Linked DNA regions of Homo sapiens: all the other regions are linked to region 3. The links are contacts of gene promoters, found by promoter capture Hi-C in blood cells and fetal thymus (Javierre and others, 2016). All regions are on one chromosome and are shown on one strand. The core of a region is centred on a gene start or on the middle of the fragment in contact, and the rest is flanking DNA. Distances in the headings are between cores, read along the strand shown. Region 1 holds the start of LINC01222 (long intergenic non-protein coding RNA 1222). Region 2 overlaps MIR181A1HG (MIR181A1 host gene). Region 3 holds the start of PTPRC (protein tyrosine phosphatase receptor type C). Region 4 overlaps NEK7 (NIMA related kinase 7).

Region 1 (4,737 bases), core at 534-3,033, 380 kb after region 3:
GACCAAATCAAGATAGCAATGTATTTTCCGTAAGGACATTGTTTTTAAAAAATATATTTCTTTTGAAGTCAGTTACTTTATATGAGTCACATGCATTTCACTTTTTCTTTGTCCCATGCCTTCTTATTACTTTAGACTTGGCTTGCTGCAATATTTGCTTGACCACTCTAAAGATTCAACTTTGCATCTCTTAGTTAGATGATTCTCTCCTTTGAGCTACTACTCTACTCGCTTTGTTGTTTTTAACTACCTTTAGGATCACTCTTCCTTTTTCTTCTCTCTCAAGTTCTTCCAACTCTGCTTCCTCATCCCATCTTTGAGATATAGATACTTTATAAAGATTTGCTCATAGTCTTTGTTTTTTCTCTAACCACACTCACTTCCTTGGTAATTTTGCTCAGTCTTATACTCTCAATTGTCACCTTTACCTAGTGACTTCCAAGAATCCACCTGTCTCCTCCTGACTGCCTGTGGGTTCTAGTGTGCATTGTACATCTTCAGCAACAGTTCTGAAAACCATTTAAATTTAGTATATATAAGCCAATACTTTTCTTGTAGCCCTAAAACCTACTCTTTTTCCAACATATCCTTCTGGTTATTACTAACCTCCTAATTGCCTACATTAAAAATGTCAATTATTACTATTATCTCTCTCTGATGTTTCTTTACTGTCAAGTTCTATTTATTTCCACCTATCCTATTTCTTTATCCTGATTTCCACTTCCCTTATATGATGCTCATGAAAAGTCAGTGTTTCTTTAATTTGATGGTGCTTCCAATAGAGTGAAATTTTTTTAATTACACAAAATAATGCACATCCAGTATCCAGTATTTTCCTAGACATACTACTGTTACTCTTTTTTAATATATGGTCTTTTAAAGATGGTATCTTATGTTTACAAGGTTCACCTTTCTTCCCCTTGATGAGTATCATGAGGTCTCATTTTCCACACCTGAGTGTCTCACAGACCTACCTCTCCTTCTTATAGAGACATTTCCCAAAGAACATTTTACATTACATGCGTGTATAAAGGGAAGCCTGTAATTTTGACCTGGTAAGGAATGGGTGAGTTGCTGATCACCCTTCCTTTTTGTAATTCAGTTTAAGAAACAAGCTTCATTTTAAATTCCAATTCTATAGTCATATTTTCTACAATATTCATTATTTCATTCTTTCAACAAGTTAATATATTAACTTTTATTCCTAAACCAATTATTTTTTCCTTATTCATTTTACAACTCATTTCCAGATTAAACTTTCTGAAGCCTAGTTCCATTAAGTTTCCCCTACTATTCAAAAATGTAACAATGGTTTCCTCTTGTATATAAAATATAACGTTCAACTCCAGTGTAGGGCATTCAATTCTTTCCACAACCTGAACCCAAATTTCTTTTCCAACCTGATTGTCCCACGTACATGTGTCACACCCTTCAGCTAAACCAAAACTTTCACCTTCCACCCTGTGGTGGATAGGCTCTGTGGTGGCCCCCCATCATCCCCATCTCCTGACATTTATGGCCTTGAATAGTACTTTCCCCTGAGTATGACCATGACCTGTGACTTGCTTCTAACCAATAGGATACAAGACAGGGGGAATGTGATTACATATTTATGATTATGTAGAGAAGATGGTGTGACCATCTTGTTAAAGTTTATTTTTTCCTGGCTGGATTTAAAGAACTACACTGCCATGTTGTAGGCTGCATGTTGGGTGACCATTGTGACAAGGAACTTAGGGTGGCCCCTAGGAGCTGAGGATGGTCTCCAGTTGAACATCAACAAGACACTGAAATTCTCTGTCCTTTAACTGCAAGGAACTAAATTTTGCCAACGAAAATGAATCTTTCTCCAGTTGAGTTTCAGATGAGACTGTACTTCCAGGCAAATCCTTTTTGCAATCTTGTTCACCCCAAACAGAGGACTCAGCTAAGCTCTTCCCAGATTCCAGATACACAGAAATTTTAAGGTAATAAATGTGTGTTATATTAAACTGCAAATTAGTGATAATTTCTTATTCTGCAATAGAAAACTACTACTCACCTTTTGCTTTTGCATTATGTCTGAAAAGTCTTTCTCTATATGATCATATATTTTAACTCTACCATACATTATAACTCAATGCCAATTACTCCAAGAAGTATCCTCATGTCTTGGGAAGCAATCTATCCCATCTCTCAACTCCAACATCACCTTACTAGATCTGCTTCTATGAACATACTTCTTTTACATTTTTATTATGGGTGCTTATCTTCTCTTTTAGACCATAACCTTCTAAAACGCGGAATTTTATTTGATTCATCTTTAAAAACAAGGGATCCAACACGTTGCTTTGAATATGTTAATAGCTCAATAAATACTTTAACTAAATAACATTTTACAAAATATTTGAGCCTAAATATTTCGGTGCTAGGAAGATTAAAATATATGCTAACTTTCTGTTTTATACAATGACAAGCTTAGTGGGCAATGTATCACACTAGTAAATACTGCAGAGAAATAGACTCATACTTCCAATTATTTATTTTTTCAGAACCTGCTCAAACTCCTTTGCATTGTGAAATATAAGAAGTTTTTTCTAAAGGAATGATATAAATACATAGTATTAGAAAAAATTAGAAATTAATTTTTATGTAAAAAATAATAGTTTTCTAAAGGTTTTACAAGGGCCTTACTATTAAAATGAAAGGAAAGCAGTTTAACTTTATTTCTCCATTGTCTACAATATTTGTCTTCTACTGATAATGAACATTCTATCTGCTACACTCATAACTGTTGTCTGCATTGGGAGAATGATTTTGATTAACTTACATAAGGGCATAAAATAAAAATTTAACCTTTTTTAGTTTTTCAAAAAAGTCTATAAAAATAGTAAGTGAAATGAAAGCAATCTTCTATTAACAGGAAGATAGTCTAGGGCTGAGTTTATGCTTTGTGGAGCATCCATGTTGTATGTGAAAGGTAGCTGTACTTTCATAAGAATTGCTGAATAGTAAAGAGAATTGGAATAATGTTTAATATTACATATGGTAATACCATTAAAATATAAGCAGATTTATACATGTTTTCTCCTAGGAACATGTCTTCATGTACTAGTTTTCTGTCTATATTGAGAAGTCATGATTATTATATCCTTATTCTATACTAATTAGCTCATTTCCTAATAGCAGTAGGTGCCAGTGTATCAAAGATATAAGATTGTTCTGAAAACTGCTTAGATGTAACGGAGACTCAGGACACTTTTCTAAATTTTCATTTATTCAAATATTATTTATCTATAGAACTATGGTTTTTAAAAATAACATTTTTAGATCTGTACTATATAACCCTGGTAGAACCAGTATCACACCAAATGTGTTTGATAAACACCTCTAAATTGCTAAGAGTAAGATGAAAATGATCTTTTGTGATAAGAGATTTAAAAATGGTAGTCTATTTCAAAAATATCAAAAATAAAAGAAGGAATAAAAGCTTCACAATAAATTAATGCTTTACTCTCTAATATGCTTCCTTTAAGTATAAACCATTCCATTTAGCATTCAGAAACTGCTATTGAATCAGTCTACATCCAAAACATATTCACTCACTACAATTTGTGTTGTCATTTTGGAATATGACTTTAAAGCATGAGTCATAAAGCCTGTGAAGTGCTATTGTCAAAAAAGTCATAACATACGTTATTTAAAGGAACACATTAAATTCTGCATTATTGTAAATATACTTTTCATAATGCTGTTTGCTAAAATACTTTAAAAAAATCTACAAATTTACTTTCAATAGCTTTTCATTGAATGGGAGATTTTTAAAGCATATACTCTGATTTTGTGCTTCTCTGCAAGGTAATAATTTCAACATTATCATTATCATGAGTACATTCTTTAAAATTTAAATGTCTTAAATTCAATATGCCTATAATTTTCTGTGAATCTGCACATATAAGTATCCACATGTAATTCTTATGAATATAGATTTCATCTCCTTTCCCCACCTATACCCACTTTCCTGCAGAACAGCTAGAGTAATCCATTTAAAATGAAACCCAGATTATGCCATTCTGCTACTTAAAACACTCCAATATCTCTCCATAACACTTAGGATAAACCAAATTACTTGGCTGCTCAACACCCTACTTGATTGGTCCCTGCCTCAGCCTCTCTAATGTCAATGCCTATCATTCTTCCTTAGTTCCTATCATATCACACCCTGAACTTCCTTAGTTCAGGGTGTGATAGCTATACTGGTAACATTCTGGCCCTTGAATGTCCTTGAATATCTGAAGATTTACCTCTGCATTATGGTCACAGCTGCTCCCCCTTTATCTTCCTATGCTTATTTCCTTCTTGACACGTAAATCTTAGCTTAAATGTCACCATCTCAGAGAAGTCTTTGTAGGTCACCAACCCAAAAGTAGCTGCCATCTTCCAAGCATTGCCCATAATGTTACCCCTGCTTAATTTCCATCTGAGCTGTCATCCTTTGTGTATGTAGGTGTATATATATATTTATTTTGGTTTGATGTCAGCCACACCCAACCAAAAGTAAGCGGCATAAACCTAGTGCCTGGCCCTTAGTAGATGTTTTGAAGGGATGAGTGGAACAGTAAGATACAGAGGCCTTGCTGTAGCTTACCTCCTAACTCTTAAGTTTTGGCTTTTTCTCTCATTTGCTATGTGACTTTAGGCAATTACTCAAACTCTCTAAGCCTATTTCCTCATCGGTAGAAATAAAATTGTCATACC
Region 2 (4,576 bases), core at 1,200-3,699, 290 kb after region 3:
ATTTGAGGTAGGAAAACAAGAATTGGCTAAATCACTGCCCTTAATTTTTCTAATGGGTTTTTATAATTCCTAAATTGATGGGAAAATCATCAAATATTGGAAAATTCTTATATTTTGGAAGCACAAATTGATTCACAGAACATATATATAATTATATATTCTCTCTATATAGATTGAATATATATATACACACACATATATATAAAAGATGATCTCAGATATTTAAATTTTCCATGTTCATAAAGAATTTACTTCATATTTTGGTGGCTTAGAACATGTCTTTATATTTGTGAATCCCATGAACAAATACAGTTCAGTTTTCTCTGAAATTTTGATTTAAAAAAATTATAATTGATCTTATCATTCATAAGACTTGCACTTTTCAAACAATTGAAAAAACATGGCTTTTGATGATTAGGCAGCACATATTTTTGGACAACTAATAGATTTGCTTGAGATATAAAGTACCTGATGAAGAATGAGCAAAGAACACCCAATCAGATAGAGTGTTGCCCTGAGACCACTTCAAAAACCCTGATAATTAATTTGGAGTTTTTCTTAACTCTATTATATATTTTTAAAGTATACACCTTTGGTTTATGGTTTTTTCTATCTTTATTAGGCAAACAAATGTCAATATGTCTGGATAACTTGTTTTCATCTAATATTTTCACCATTCGAATAATAAATGTCTTTTAAAAAAATCTTTGACTCTTTGCAGTAATTAATTAAGATAATTATTTGAGTCAAGAATTTTTCAAAAAGAAAAAAATTCTGGGAACTTAGATGCCCACTTTTAATACATACGTAATTCGCTGAGCTATACTGAATATGGAGCTCACGTTCTATTCTTGATTTTTTTTACTGGTCCAAGTTCAAATAAAATTTACATAAAAATATTTTCTTTATAAAATGACTATACAGATAATGAACCAAGAATATTATATAGTGAATATTTTCATGGTAAATTTAAAAAGCATATGTATCTTCCAAAAATAATGTTTTTTTAAATAACAAGAAAAATTAATTTAGTACAACCATTCTTTCATCTTAATTCAACCAATATTTTATTTTTTAACCAATAAAGTGCTTACTAGACAGTTGAAACTGTGTAAGCGAATAATAACTTAAAAGAATTACTTGTGATAAAATGATAGAAAAAGCCAACTCAAATAATTTTCATTGAAGACAAATCTTGCAGCTATATTAATATTAATAAAAATTAAATGCTTTTGATTAGTCTAGATTGGCTTGTAATGGTAAAACACAAAGACAAAACTGAGGCAGTGAGCCTCACAATGCCTCTACTGATTTCTCTACTGGCCCTTCCTCTGCACATGGTCAATTAGAATTGAAAATCCTGTGCTGATTTCATTCGCTGGAATTTTTAAGCAGGTCAGGAAGAAAGATGTTATTGAAAGGAAAAGTCTCATCTAAATAAGAAAGGAGCACGTGGCCATCTGGTCTTAGCTATACATATAAAAAGTTATTTCAGCTGAACTGCAGTCTTGATGTTTAAAAAGATGTGCCAGAAATCAAACCAAAATCTGTTTACGGTAAAATATCCCAAATGTTTCTTTTTAAACTTTCAAATATGCAATACACAGTTCATTTCCTATCTGTGATTCATGAGCCCATTTGACCCCAGCGCCTCACTGAGCTTGACTGAGTTTCACTCAGTAGAACATTCAATCATTTTTAGAACACTTTTCCTTCATAGAGTGTCAACAAGACAGTGGATCTTTTGAAAATTGTGAAAATAACTTTGATAGTTTTCACTCAAATTAATTTTGAGTATTGTCGTCATGTAGGATTGCAAGAATAAAATTTGAAACATAAAGCAGCCAAACCAGTTTCCCTTGTTTTCTCATCGCAACTTGAGGTTCCTGTGCATTCTCTGCACAGTGCTCAGGTATCTACTCACAATAATTTCAGGCCCTATGCCTAAAGGCTAAGTTAAAAAAAATTCTCTTTTCATGAAGAGAAATTTTAAGTGTTGAGTCTTCTTTTGCAAATCATTTTCATGGTAGTAAGAAACAGAGATGGTTTTAAAAATCACATTTTATACTGTTTGTCAAATTAGAGTCATATCTTTTGATATTCTTCTTTGACATGAGGTATTTGTGGTAATTATAACATCAATACATTAATTCATCCAATATCTGATAATGCCCTTCTGGTAGTATAGACATAGCTAGTTGATATCGCAATCTGAATTTTATTGTATTGAAGTACATTAGTAGTCTTCAAGAACTCTTATTATAAAGTGACAACAATTATTTGGGGTCAGAAGACTATATTCAAATACATTATATATATATATACATATATATATATACTAAATATGCTACATGCATGTAAGAGACATACATGATCATAATATCAGCACATGCTAAACAACGATGTAGATTTAAGCTAAGTCTTCAGATAAATACTTGGATTAAAATATTCTAATATATGAAACAAAAGCCTCTTGACATATCTTTGACATAAAATGCCCACTGGTTGTTTTTGTATATCTACTATGTTTGTTCTGCCATTTCAAATAAATCATTGCCATTGTGTAAGAAGAATAAACTGTACTATAGTAAATTGTTCTTTCTCCGTTATGCTCTGAAAAACCATTTGTTCTTGAATTGGCGTTACGTAGTTCAACTATTTCAATCAAGTCCATTATCTTCTTGTCTTTGAAAGATGCCTTTTCAGTAACCTGTACCCAATGGGCAATGTCATGTATTGTTTTTTGAAAGTAGGTAAAATTTAAACACAACTATTTGCCCATTTTAATCTTTGATAAGGAAATTATATAATTAATCATCAATCTTCCACTATATGTTGGAAGAACTGTTTATGTCAAAATTACAGAGTTAGGCCAAGAATTTCTTAACGAAGTTATTTATTAGTTCATAGTGGAGTCTTACCCTATAGACTGTCATCTAACTTGTGTAGCTTGTTTTCTCTAAGTACAAAATGTGTCAATTCTTTAGCTACATACTTTTCTTAACAATAGTAACATGAAAGCAGAAAAAGAACAAAACATTTTTTCATTTGTTTTAAAACAGTCACAAAATACATTGGCAAAATGAATCTTATTAATTTGTTGACATATACGTAGTGCTGTTTATACATATATGCTTTGAAATTCCTTTCAGATTAATTGCTTTTTAGTACGCAAGAATGAAGAAGTATTAAGAGCAAATTCCAAAATTTTAAAACTCATGTATCAGATACGTGGTATGTAAAAACTGGTAAGTATAGCAGTCATTCTATTCTAATGAAGATTAATTTAAATTACACATCAAAACTTGGTAGTTAAGGGGTAGAATGTATACAGAGTTGTTCTATATCTACCTCTCAAATCTGGCAATATGTTTTGGTAAAAGTATTAAACTTTATTGGAGTGAAATAAAATAATGTACTGAAATGTGTGCATTAATAAAAATCTGAGCACATGTTTGGTGAGTAACTATCCAGTATAAGACCCATAAAACAGACTTGAAAATAAATACAAACCCTGAACTAGCTCACACGAAAGTTAATTCAACTACTATCTAATCCATAGATATACCCTTATAAAAGCACATGAGAGAGCATTACTTCTAAATCATTGGTACAAAACTGTTCTCTCCTAAAGAAATAAGTTAAAAGTAAAAAGGATTTAATTGTTACAAAATGTTAAGTGGCGAATAAAAAACACCAAGTCATAATAAATTGAAGTATTGTAGCATTTTTATCCAACTTGATTTCAAAATGCTCACCATTTCTACATCCTATTTATATCATTGAAATTCAGCCACCTTTCAAATGTTCAAACAGCATATTAATAAGGCTTCCTAGAACCAGGAAACTCTGACTACATCTATCTTGATAAACATACCCATCCTGCCCCATAAACACATCTTCAAAAGAAAGATAGCTGCGAATAAAATAGTCCTTTCCTGTGGGTGTCGGTTAACCCCACGAGCACGTGAACTTCCTATGGGCACACACCCAACATACATTAGCGATTAGGTGATTGAAAATGTTGCCCACAAAGGCAAAATTTTATATATGATGACATCACCAGCTAACCTGGATTTCTCTGTGATATAATGATATAATTTCCTGGTTGAGTGTGTGCATCTTGAGATAGAGAAAGAGAAAAGAGAGCGAGTATGTGTGTATGTATGTGTGTGTGTGAGGAGAGAGAGAGAGAAAGATGCTTAAAGAACAGCATCATCAGAAATGGTATATAACCTTCTGCAAGGTTTGCAAGAATCTTTCGACAGACCTTTGACTTGTTCCAGATTTCATGCAGCATAAGTTCATTCAAACATGCATTCCCCACACAAACAAATTACATTATGTTTAGTTAGCACACTATTAGTTCCTAAAATATTCTGATAAGATCTGTTGAGATGAGATTTCTACACCAAATGAGGCATGTGCATCTGTATGATGTGGTGCGGGAGTTGCAAAGTCCCTTGAGACCTGCCTTTGAATGGGTAAGACGTCTTGGTTTCAAAGGTAATGAAAGGGTTAAAAATTGAGGCTGTCTAGGGTAAGAGAAAGGGGATATTGTTGTCTTTAATCTTTC
Region 3 (4,824 bases), core at 629-3,128:
CCTTTTAAAATGTCCGTTTAAGGCTGCTAAACTCACATTGTTATAGAGTATATTTTATATACTTTTCTTCCTTTTAAAAGATCATATACACTTTTCTCCTGGCCTCTAATTTTGCCAAATATTCTGCCATAACAGCAAGCTCACAGAACACAAGTATTTGCTTAAAGATATTTAAAGCAAATCCCCAAAGAGTTTTCTGTTGCAAATGTATTTTAAGACATAGGCTGAGGAGCTGAGTATTCAAATCCATGAGTTCTGACACTGATGTTTTATTAGGCCTACCCACATGAAAATTAGTGCTTACTTGCACAGTTATCTTATTTAAAAATACATTTGCAAAAAGAGAATAATTTCATTTTCACTGATTCAAAGGTCTATCTTTTCGAGTATTATAAACTTACATAGTACAAAAAGATTGGTAAAAGGGATGAGAAAAATAAAGGGCAATAGTAAGGTGAGTAAGGAAAGCAAAATTAAACTTGGAGACTTGGGTTCTAAATATAGCTTGTCTACATCCTAGCTGCAAGATCTTAGGCAACTCAACTAACCTCTCTGAACATCACAGATAAAATGGGGAATAATAACATTATCTAGCTCAAGGGTATCGTACAAATTATACAATATATGTAAAGTGCAAAGCATAGTTCCTGCACATAGTAAGTGCTCCATAAGTTAAATATAATAATAATCATAGTAAAATAATATTCTTAACTACAATCTTATTAAAAGGTTATTACCTAGAGTTTAAGCTGTGGGGTTATTTCCATTTGCACAAAGTGTGATAGAAATTTGGCTCTGTAGTTCCTAGCAGCCAATGTAAGAGTAAAACAAAAAAGTTTGTAAGTATCAAAAGATTTATTTACTTAAATATAAGAACCCTACAATAATGCTTCCAAACTAGGGTTTGCAGAATTACCACAAGGGCTCTGTCTGTCTAAAAGTCCCCCAAGCATTATCTATTGTTCAAATAAATGAGTTGCACATGTGTGTACTTTTATTTTTAAAGGCATATAGATATTGTATTAATAAAACCAATTCATCTAATTGTATTGTTGAATTTATACTTTTTGCCAGTAAGCATTTTCCTAATAGATGGACTTAACTAAGAACATCAGAATGGTGAAGAGCATTGTGTTAATACAATTCATTGTCTTATTTGTTAAAAAAGTTGAAAAAGTATTGCTGAGAAAAAGGAAACAAGTTAACTTTTGTTAAAGGTATCTCTTGGTTTTCACTGTCCTTTCCCTCATCAGTAGCGCCAAGAACATCTTAAGTCACAGAAACATTAGTTTTTGGAAGCAGGGTTTGCTGTAACTATAGTAGAAATGACATTCTGATTCCACTCCTAGCTTCACAAGGATATCTGTGAAAGATTTGGGGCAAAACTGTTAAGCTGTCTGAAAGTGCTTTTGCATAAGAAATGGGTTTTACTGCTAAAACTGTCATATTGCTGAGTTTTGAATGCCCTAATGGTAAATGATACTGGGTTGCCAAAAATAACCAGATTAGTAGTTTTTTCATTCATTTGGCCGTCTCAGTAAGTCAAATATTGATACTTTCTACTAAGTCATCTTGCCAACACCCATTTTGTTATACTTATGCTGAATCTGTTTGTCATCTCTTAAGTAAGAAAATTATTGATTATTTTGTGGGGATTTAATTTAAAAAAAATGGTAATGGATACTGTAAAGGAGCATTATTTGGATGGTTTAAAAACATCTTCCTTGATGGGAAAATCTTTTAAAAGGCTTTCTAACTTGGTGTAATTACTTGAATTAAGGAAGTGCAATGCCATTCTACTGACTTAGAACAACTTTTTTGACTTCCTGCAAAGAGGACCCTTACAGTATTTTTGGAGAAGTTAGTAAAACCGAATCTGACATCATCACCTAGCAGTTCATGCAGCTAGCAAGTGGTTTGTTCTTAGGGTAACAGAGGAGGAAATTGTTCCTCGTCTGATAAGACAACAGTGGAGAGTATGCATTTATTTATTTACTTTTACATTTTTGATTCGTTTTTACAGAGAAAAACTTCTACAGAGATAACAATTATTTTGCTTTTCAGAAGGACGCATGCTGTTTCTTAGGGACACGGCTGACTTCCAGATATGACCATGTATTTGTGGCTTAAACTCTTGGCATTTGGCTTTGCCTTTCTGGACACAGAAGTATTTGTGACAGGTAAGTACAAGGATATTAATATTTTTTAAATTATTTTTTCTCTTTTGGAGGAATGTTTGAAATAGACATAAAAATAATTTAAATGTGTTGGTAACTGGAAGTGAGAAGCCTGCTGTAAACCATCAAGATTGTTGTCTCAGGGAGACATAGCTAGTTGTGTGACAGAATACATTGTTTCTGTTTACAAAGACATAAATGTTTCGGGACAAAAAATACAATTTTAAAAGGAAAGCAATGTCTATCTGTATCTTTATTTACAACTGTTCAAAGATATTACAAAAGCAACATTATTACTTAACTTCCAAAGTGACAATAACACACATTTATAAAAGCCTGAGAATTTTTTAATGATAAAATAAGTGAGTTTTTATTCTTTTAACAAATTTGATCTTTTAAAAAGTCATAAAACAGCTTTGGTTGTATGTAAGCCACTCCCTCTTTTCAGACCTGAAGTTTGCTTCCTCAAATTTTGAATTTAATTGACATATTTTATTGAATACTTGGGTATATAATAGTTCAAAAATATATTGAGATATTTAGTAAAATATTAACTTTCTGCAATTTTTATCACAGAATGTATTTTAAATCAAGTTTTTAGTTTCTTGTTAATAGTTTTAATACATTTTTGCTTTAGAAATTCTTGTGGAGCCACCGCCCTTCCTGGGTGGTGGGTAAATATTACAGCCTTGATGAGATAGAAATATTTAAACTCTTAAAAATCATGCAAATGCTGTATTCAGTAGGAAAATGCAACTAGTTGGACTTCCAGTGCCTATTAAAGTTTGAAATCTTTGCACATTTATGGTCTATTCAATGGATAGTTCTTGAGCGGCGTCAATATGAATCATGAGTACATTTCAATAGATTATAGAATGTAACTAATAATTAATATTTAATATTTCTCTTTATGATGTAGTATCTAAAAGGACATTGAAAATAAAATTTTTGTAGAAATTCCAAAAAGTATAAAAAGTATTTTAAAACAACTTGCTTATTACAATTCACTTTGAAGTCTTTTTTTGACTTTTACCGTTCTTCTTTCCTCTGAAAGTCAGGGAAGTAGCTACCTCTTGAGCATGTTACATTGACAATTTCTATTTGGAGAGGAAAGAAAGAGGAAAGAAAAACAACATAAGATTTTTGTTGTTGTTGTTGTGGCTGTTTTGCTTTTTATTGCAAAGGTGAATTTTTTAAAAATCTATATATTTGCAGCATTTGTCTTAGTACAGAAAATGTTTATCAAGTTACCATCCCTTTAAAGCTTATGATAATAAAAAGTAAATTATAAAGAATAATAATCTCAATGAAGTGATATATGTATATTATCACAAATCAGAACAGATTTTCATTTAAAATTCCCACTCAGGAAATGTCGAAAAGCATTTTTAAATGAGCATAAAGAAATACTGAGACATTTTGTAAGCCAGAATATTTTTCTTCTCTTCATATTCATTTAACTTCTATTATTTTCTTCAGGTCTAGCTCCATTGCTTTTTATTCCAGGCAAACTTCCCAACCTCCTGAATAGACCAAATATCCTATTATATGCTTAAATCAGAGTGTGAAATATTTCCTTTGTGAATAAAAATTCAACTCATTCTATTACAGGATGTTTTTTTAACCATAAGACACATCTTTGAATTTATAATTGAAATAATATGATGGGGTCTAGAAACCTTTATATCAACTTTGCTGAATGATTTATACCATAGCAAATAAATGGATATACATAAATTTATTTTGAAAACTCAACTTTATCTTCAGTTGCTCACATAAATATTGAGAGCAAACATTTTTCTAAAAGACATTTGTAGACTCCCTGAGATATATGCTTATTTGTGGAAAAACATATACAGATATAATCATTTGTATCTGCAAATATTGTTTATAATCCTTTCAAGTTGCAAGAAACATTTTGTGATTTAATGTATAATTTGGAAAATTCTTAATGCTTTAAATTATTTATTTTTCTTTTTTAGCAACAAATGAGTTGGATTCTATGTTTCATTTTAACGTGTTAAAATTAGTTTAGTGCCTACAGGAAATAATAAACTTTTGGGGAACAAAATTTATATTGTATGCTGTAAAGGCATAAAGAAATAGAGCCAAATGTAGAGAGCCATCAATGGTAACTCTATGCATAATTCAAATATTTTATTTAATATCTAAAATGCACACACGGACAAGGCCAAAGTTAATCTTTGCCACGGCAACAACCAGGCAGGGTTCAGTTTTACTCAAGACTTCCTAATCCTCTTGCTCTGTGCCTCTTTGCCATGGCAACTGGAAGCCAAACTTTGTTTAGAATTTCTAAATAATGTTAGGGGACAATGATGGTTTTAAGAAGGCAGGTGAAGGTGAGTGTTCTCTGGTTCTAATAAAGTTGTAATGCCAGGCAGATCTACCACACTATAGCATGGCAGTTAGGAGTATATGAGTTATGGTATGTGAGGTATATGATGAGTTTTGTTATGAGTCATAACAGTTAAGACTCATTTCCTGGACATAATTCTTCATTTTTCCATCTGTATTAAAAATATATATCTCATGTTATAAACATGGACTGTGCCTTGCACATCACAGACATTCAATGAAAATTATTTAATTGAATTTGGTAAGCAGTCCTATTAAGTTCTAAATACTC
Region 4 (4,661 bases), core at 1,662-4,161, 460 kb before region 3:
GTCTTCTCATGCTATGTACTCATTATGAACCTTCCTTTAGAGGGGAGGGAACTGAGACACAGGGCGGATATGTTGTCTTTAATCGAAAGCAGGTGCTCATGTGAATTTAAACTAAGGTTTCCTGATGGTTAGACCTGTAGTCTTTTAATCTCTTGTTTTGTTTTCTAACTGTGTTTAGTTATTCAACAAATATTTATTGGATCTTCATGTGTGCCGAAGGTATAAAAATGAAGAGCAAATAGATTCAGCCCTTGAGTAGTAGTTGCTAATACATAGGTAATGGGTAGGGCCTAAGGTGGACAGACAACTGATTCATTTAAATACATGAGACAAATGCTTAAAATACGTATTTTAAAAAAGGCTACCTGAGTACCAAGCAAGGTTGACCAGGCTGACTAGCTGGGTTGAGTATTTCAGTATGATGCCATTGTCTGTGTCAGAGGCACATAGGTATTAAATAACTTGGCATTTGGAGGAAGTATAAGTGGTTCACATTAAGGCCAGAGTATGGTACTTATGTGGGGGAAAGTAGCTGGCAAGTAAGGAGTGAGGTTGAGGAGATTATGTTTTATTCATTAAAGAGTTTTAAGCAGGCTTATGACATAGATTTTCATCTTAGATTTATCATATATATATATATATAATGGGTATGTAGAATAAGAATTTCATTACTAACATCAGGAAGAGCAGTTAGTAGATTTTAATAGTAGCAAGGATCATGAGGGTCTGGGATAAACAGAGTGATGATGTTTGTGAGGCAGAATTAGTAGGAGTTGAGGACTTACGTAGAGGTAAGGGAGTAAAAGTTTCTGGTATGACCTAGGGACCGTAGGGGATGACGGATAACAATGTAGGGGGTGACTGGATGAAAATGCCATTCACTAAGAAAGGAAATACAGAGTAGAAACAGTTTAGAGTGTTCAAGATTTTAGACATGTTAGGTTTAGGATATTAGGCAGAAAGATGCAATATAATTGGAAATGAGATTCTGGAGCTACAGGTTTATAAATCGTCAGTATGTAGGAGGCAGGTTATGTCCAGCTGAAAATGTGTGATTATTGATTTAAATAACCAAGGGACTTACCATTAAAGGAAACTTAAACAAGAGAATCAGCAGACTTGTTTATTGATCACAGAGCAAAAGACTCATTTTGTGTAGAAACGATAAAAGTAGATAAAATAATTTCCTTATTATGCTCTTTATGTAGTGATTCACATTGCTAGCTTGATTTACTTCAAGCAAGTACTATATTAAGTAGTAGTAGGTAAACACACAGTTCTGAACCAATAATTGATGAAAGTAAATTACTGTTCTTCAGCCAAGAATTGGAAGGGATCAAAGTGTTCTCTTCAGTATCACAAAATGCCAGAAGTAATGGAACAATTACTTCAGAGACCTAACAAAATCAAAGCAGAGGATTGTGGCTAAAAAAGGGCATACACAGCCAAATTATTGTTCATGTATGATGGCAATAGAATTACTTTTTTTATTTTCAACGTTCAGAGACAATGTATCACATATGAGCTCTTCAAAAATTATTTGAAAATGTACTATTAAGAGTTTGGGAAAGGGACATGTTTGTACAAAATCATTGAGAAAAAGCATTGAAATGCTTTTTTTAAATGTAGAAGCAAGACTAAATACTTGTTTTGCAAGATGGGAAATAGTACAAAATGTCAGAATAACTTAAAAAGGGTATGGTTATAAAACTTATAATCTGAGAACTGGGAATGAAGTGTTGGGGGAAAGGGAAGAGTGATGGCATGATCAGTTCCTCAGCTAACCTCGGGTTGTGTGCCAGAAGAAGGATTTCAGTTTTACTTTGATAATGAACAAAAAGTCTGGTTAAAGGAGGCCTTTAAATAACTTGGAATCACCATTAGTGGAATTAAGATAAGAAAAGATATGTTTGTTTTCTAAATGGCTAGACAAAATCAAGCAAGCAAACATCGTCCATGTGGCAAGAGATGAAAAAAAATAGCACAGAAACATAAGAATTAAGAATATAAAAGACAAGTGTCAACAAAACAATTTGTATACAGTATATTAAATTTCCCTTTAAAAGGACTCAGATTAAAGAGAGATCCTCAACTATGTGCTGCTTTCAAAAGATATTCTTAGAACGAATCAACCTAGAAAGGTTAAAAATAAAAAGGTAGCCAAGATTTATAAGGAAAATACATCAGAAAACACAGAGGAGTAGCAATATAAATTTTAAAGTAGAGTTTAATGAAGAAAATCACTAAATAAGAGAAAGAACAACTTTATAAATCGACTCAAGCCCTAATAACTAATAGACTAATGACTATGGAAGAATTAAAGTAATATGAGCTGCCTTCCCACTTAGACTTATAGTCCTGTTTTTAACGTTTTTTACTTTTAAATCGAAATGAATAGGAATCTTTCAGTTCATGCTCTTGAGTTACTATATTAATATCAAAGCCTGCAAAAATTTGGCCCAAAGGATGATATGTTGGTCGAATATTGACCAGACTGTGTTCAACAGATTACCAGACTTTTCCAAGATAATAGAAATTCTGTAGGAGAATTTTGTGGCTAGACAAGTTTGGAAAAATCTGCATCGGGTACTCTTTTGGGGTTTACAGTGCACTTTAGTGTAATTGGATCCCTGAGAAGTCTTATAGCTAAGAAACCAACTTGACTTTATTTTGCCCAGTATTTTGCAGATTCATTTGTTCATGGACCCTCTCCCTGCCATTTTTTGTTGTTGTTGTTGTTGTTGTTGTTGTCATGGAATACAGATTAACAACTCCTGGAATTCTAGTGTTTTAAAGAGCAGAGTTTGAAGAGCACTTATGGTTGTAGATACACAAAGCTTCAATAAAATTAAAACTAATGGTACAGTTAAAGAGTCATCAGTCATGACCGATAAAGGTTTATCTGAGCATATAAAGATAATATAATGGAAGAGATCTAGCTATTTGATTCATTATCTCATTTGGTTCAGTAAGAAAATTTGTGAGATAAGCTTAGTAGAATAGAAAAGCATTTGATACCATTTGATACCCCCCCCCTTTTTTTTTTAAGGAAAAGCCTCTTAGAAAATTGAGACTGTCATTTGATATGGGATATGGTCAATATAAAAACATACTGTAATTTCATATGTTTGTCCTTATTTCTTCTCAACTGCTATAATTTAAACTCATTGAGTATAGGAAATATATTAATCTTTACATTTTCTGTTGCCAATTCTAATATAAGGCCTTGCATTTTTAGGCATTCTATATACTATAGTGATTTCTTAAATGAAAACATTATTTGGAAACCTATCCTCATGTAGTTTTCAAGTTACAGTGGATTTTAGGAAATTTGTGTGTTGTGTGTGTAAAACATTTTTTAAAAATGTAGAACATGCATGGCTTTTCAAAACTTAAATAGACATTCTTCATTATGGGCCTTTATGTTTGCTTTATTTTTTTATCCAGTAAGCCCTGAATTCTTAAGATGAATTTAAATTTGGTCTAACAGTTAAGTGACAGAGAATTCATACAGATTCTTGAACAGTAAGGTGGTATAATACTCTAAAAAAAGGATTATTTTTGGTGTACAGCAAGATGCATGAGGATGGCTCCAACAGAATAGAAGTGTTCATGTAGGAAAATCAAGGGACTTTAGGACCTGAGGCTGGGACAGACTCTCCAGGATGTGGTTGGATTTTGGGCTAAACAGTCTTTCTGTGGTCTTGAGGACTGCCTTTATAGTCTGTGAAACCCTATCCTTCAATTGTGGCTTTACAGAGTTTAAGAAAATTTTGTTCGTATGCAGATTTCTGCAGTCTTCCTGTTGCCAGGAAGAACCTACAGTTACACAGGAGTGTGTGTGTGTGTGTATGTATGTGTGTGTGTGTGTATGTGTGCAGACACGTGTGTGTAAACACACAAAGTAGACTGAACTTAAACCTGATTTATAGGAGTCAGGAAACCTGAGTTTCTTTGCTTTCTCCTTGTGTAATTTTGGTTAAGTTGTGTAACTTCTTTCTTTGGAGTTTCTTGTCTGTAATCTGGAAATTATTTCCCACTCACTCCACTGTGATGTTTTGAGAAGATATCTGTGGAAACTTTTTGAAAAGTACAAAATGATAAGTGTAAAATGTCAATAAAGCATATTGATGCTTATTTTGCTAGAAGAGTACATATAAACATAAAATTTAGAAACCTTAAAAATCACGGCCAGAGAGAATCATGATTTCTACACCTCCCTTTTTTTTTTTGGTGGGGGGGTGCTTCCAGTTAAAAGTAAGCATTCAGTTTGTACTAATATTTAAAAGCCTTTGCATCATAGAGAAAATTAATCAATAACGAAGTATCATAATTTAGAATCATTATTGTTACTAACATTTTATTCCTTATTCTAAAGTAATTTATTCAGGATGTGTGCTGAGACCTGTTGTTTTAACTGTATAGCTAGATGAAAATATGAGAGAAGAGGTTTGGATGAGGTTTCTTTCCTTTGTAACAGTTTGCTTGAGGAATGGGCAGGCTTTTCCTCACTTGACAGATGGTATAGGAAGGGCATTGAGAAGCTTGCATTTGCTTGGTGGTGATAGAGACAGGGCTAGAATTCATAATTTTTGTTGTTGTTATTTAACACATTTTCCCCCTTTGGGTACAACATTTTCTTGCTGATAATTTTGACCTTG

The links. The method cuts DNA at HindIII sites, captures the fragments that hold promoters and counts their contacts. A CHiCAGO score of 5 or more calls a contact.
Region 1: a contact is called between a fragment that was not itself captured here and the fragment with the promoter of PTPRC in region 3, in 1 of 17 cell types (fetal thymus). The highest score is 7.0, in fetal thymus.
Region 2: a contact is called between a fragment that was not itself captured here and the fragment with the promoter of PTPRC in region 3, in 1 of 17 cell types (fetal thymus). The highest score is 7.0, in fetal thymus.
Region 4: a contact is called between a fragment that was not itself captured here and the fragment with the promoter of PTPRC in region 3, in 1 of 17 cell types (total CD4 T cells). The highest score is 9.1, in total CD4 T cells.

What each region holds. Positions count from the first base shown.
Region 1 is chr1:199,014,499-199,019,235 of GRCh38, forward strand. It overlaps LINC01222 (long intergenic non-protein coding RNA 1222), which reads right to left and starts at 4,466. Exons shown (of 3, transcript NR_110525.1): 1 at 4,284-4,466. LINC01221 (long intergenic non-protein coding RNA 1221) reads left to right here and starts at 1,635. Exons shown (of 3, transcript NR_126351.1): 1 at 1,635-1,967. The HindIII fragment of the contact is 1,341 bases long and covers 1,114-2,454 here.
Region 2 is chr1:198,931,062-198,935,637 of GRCh38, forward strand. All of the region lies in intron 1 of MIR181A1HG (MIR181A1 host gene), which reads right to left. Among named protein-coding and RNA genes, the nearest start is that of MIR181A1HG, 4.1 kb to the right of the region's middle. The HindIII fragment of the contact is 5,909 bases long and covers 1-4,576 here.
Region 3 is chr1:198,637,162-198,641,985 of GRCh38, forward strand. It overlaps PTPRC (protein tyrosine phosphatase receptor type C), which reads left to right and starts at 1,879. Exons shown (of 33, transcript NM_002838.5): 1 at 1,879-1,976; 2 at 2,065-2,180. The coding sequence starts at 2,108. The HindIII fragment of the contact is 4,281 bases long and covers 1-3,439 here.
Region 4 is chr1:198,175,964-198,180,624 of GRCh38, forward strand. All of the region lies in intron 1 of NEK7 (NIMA related kinase 7), which reads left to right. Among named protein-coding and RNA genes, the nearest start is that of NEK7, 21 kb to the left of the region's middle. RefSeq lists a silencer at 1-21. The HindIII fragment of the contact is 153 bases long and covers 2,836-2,988 here.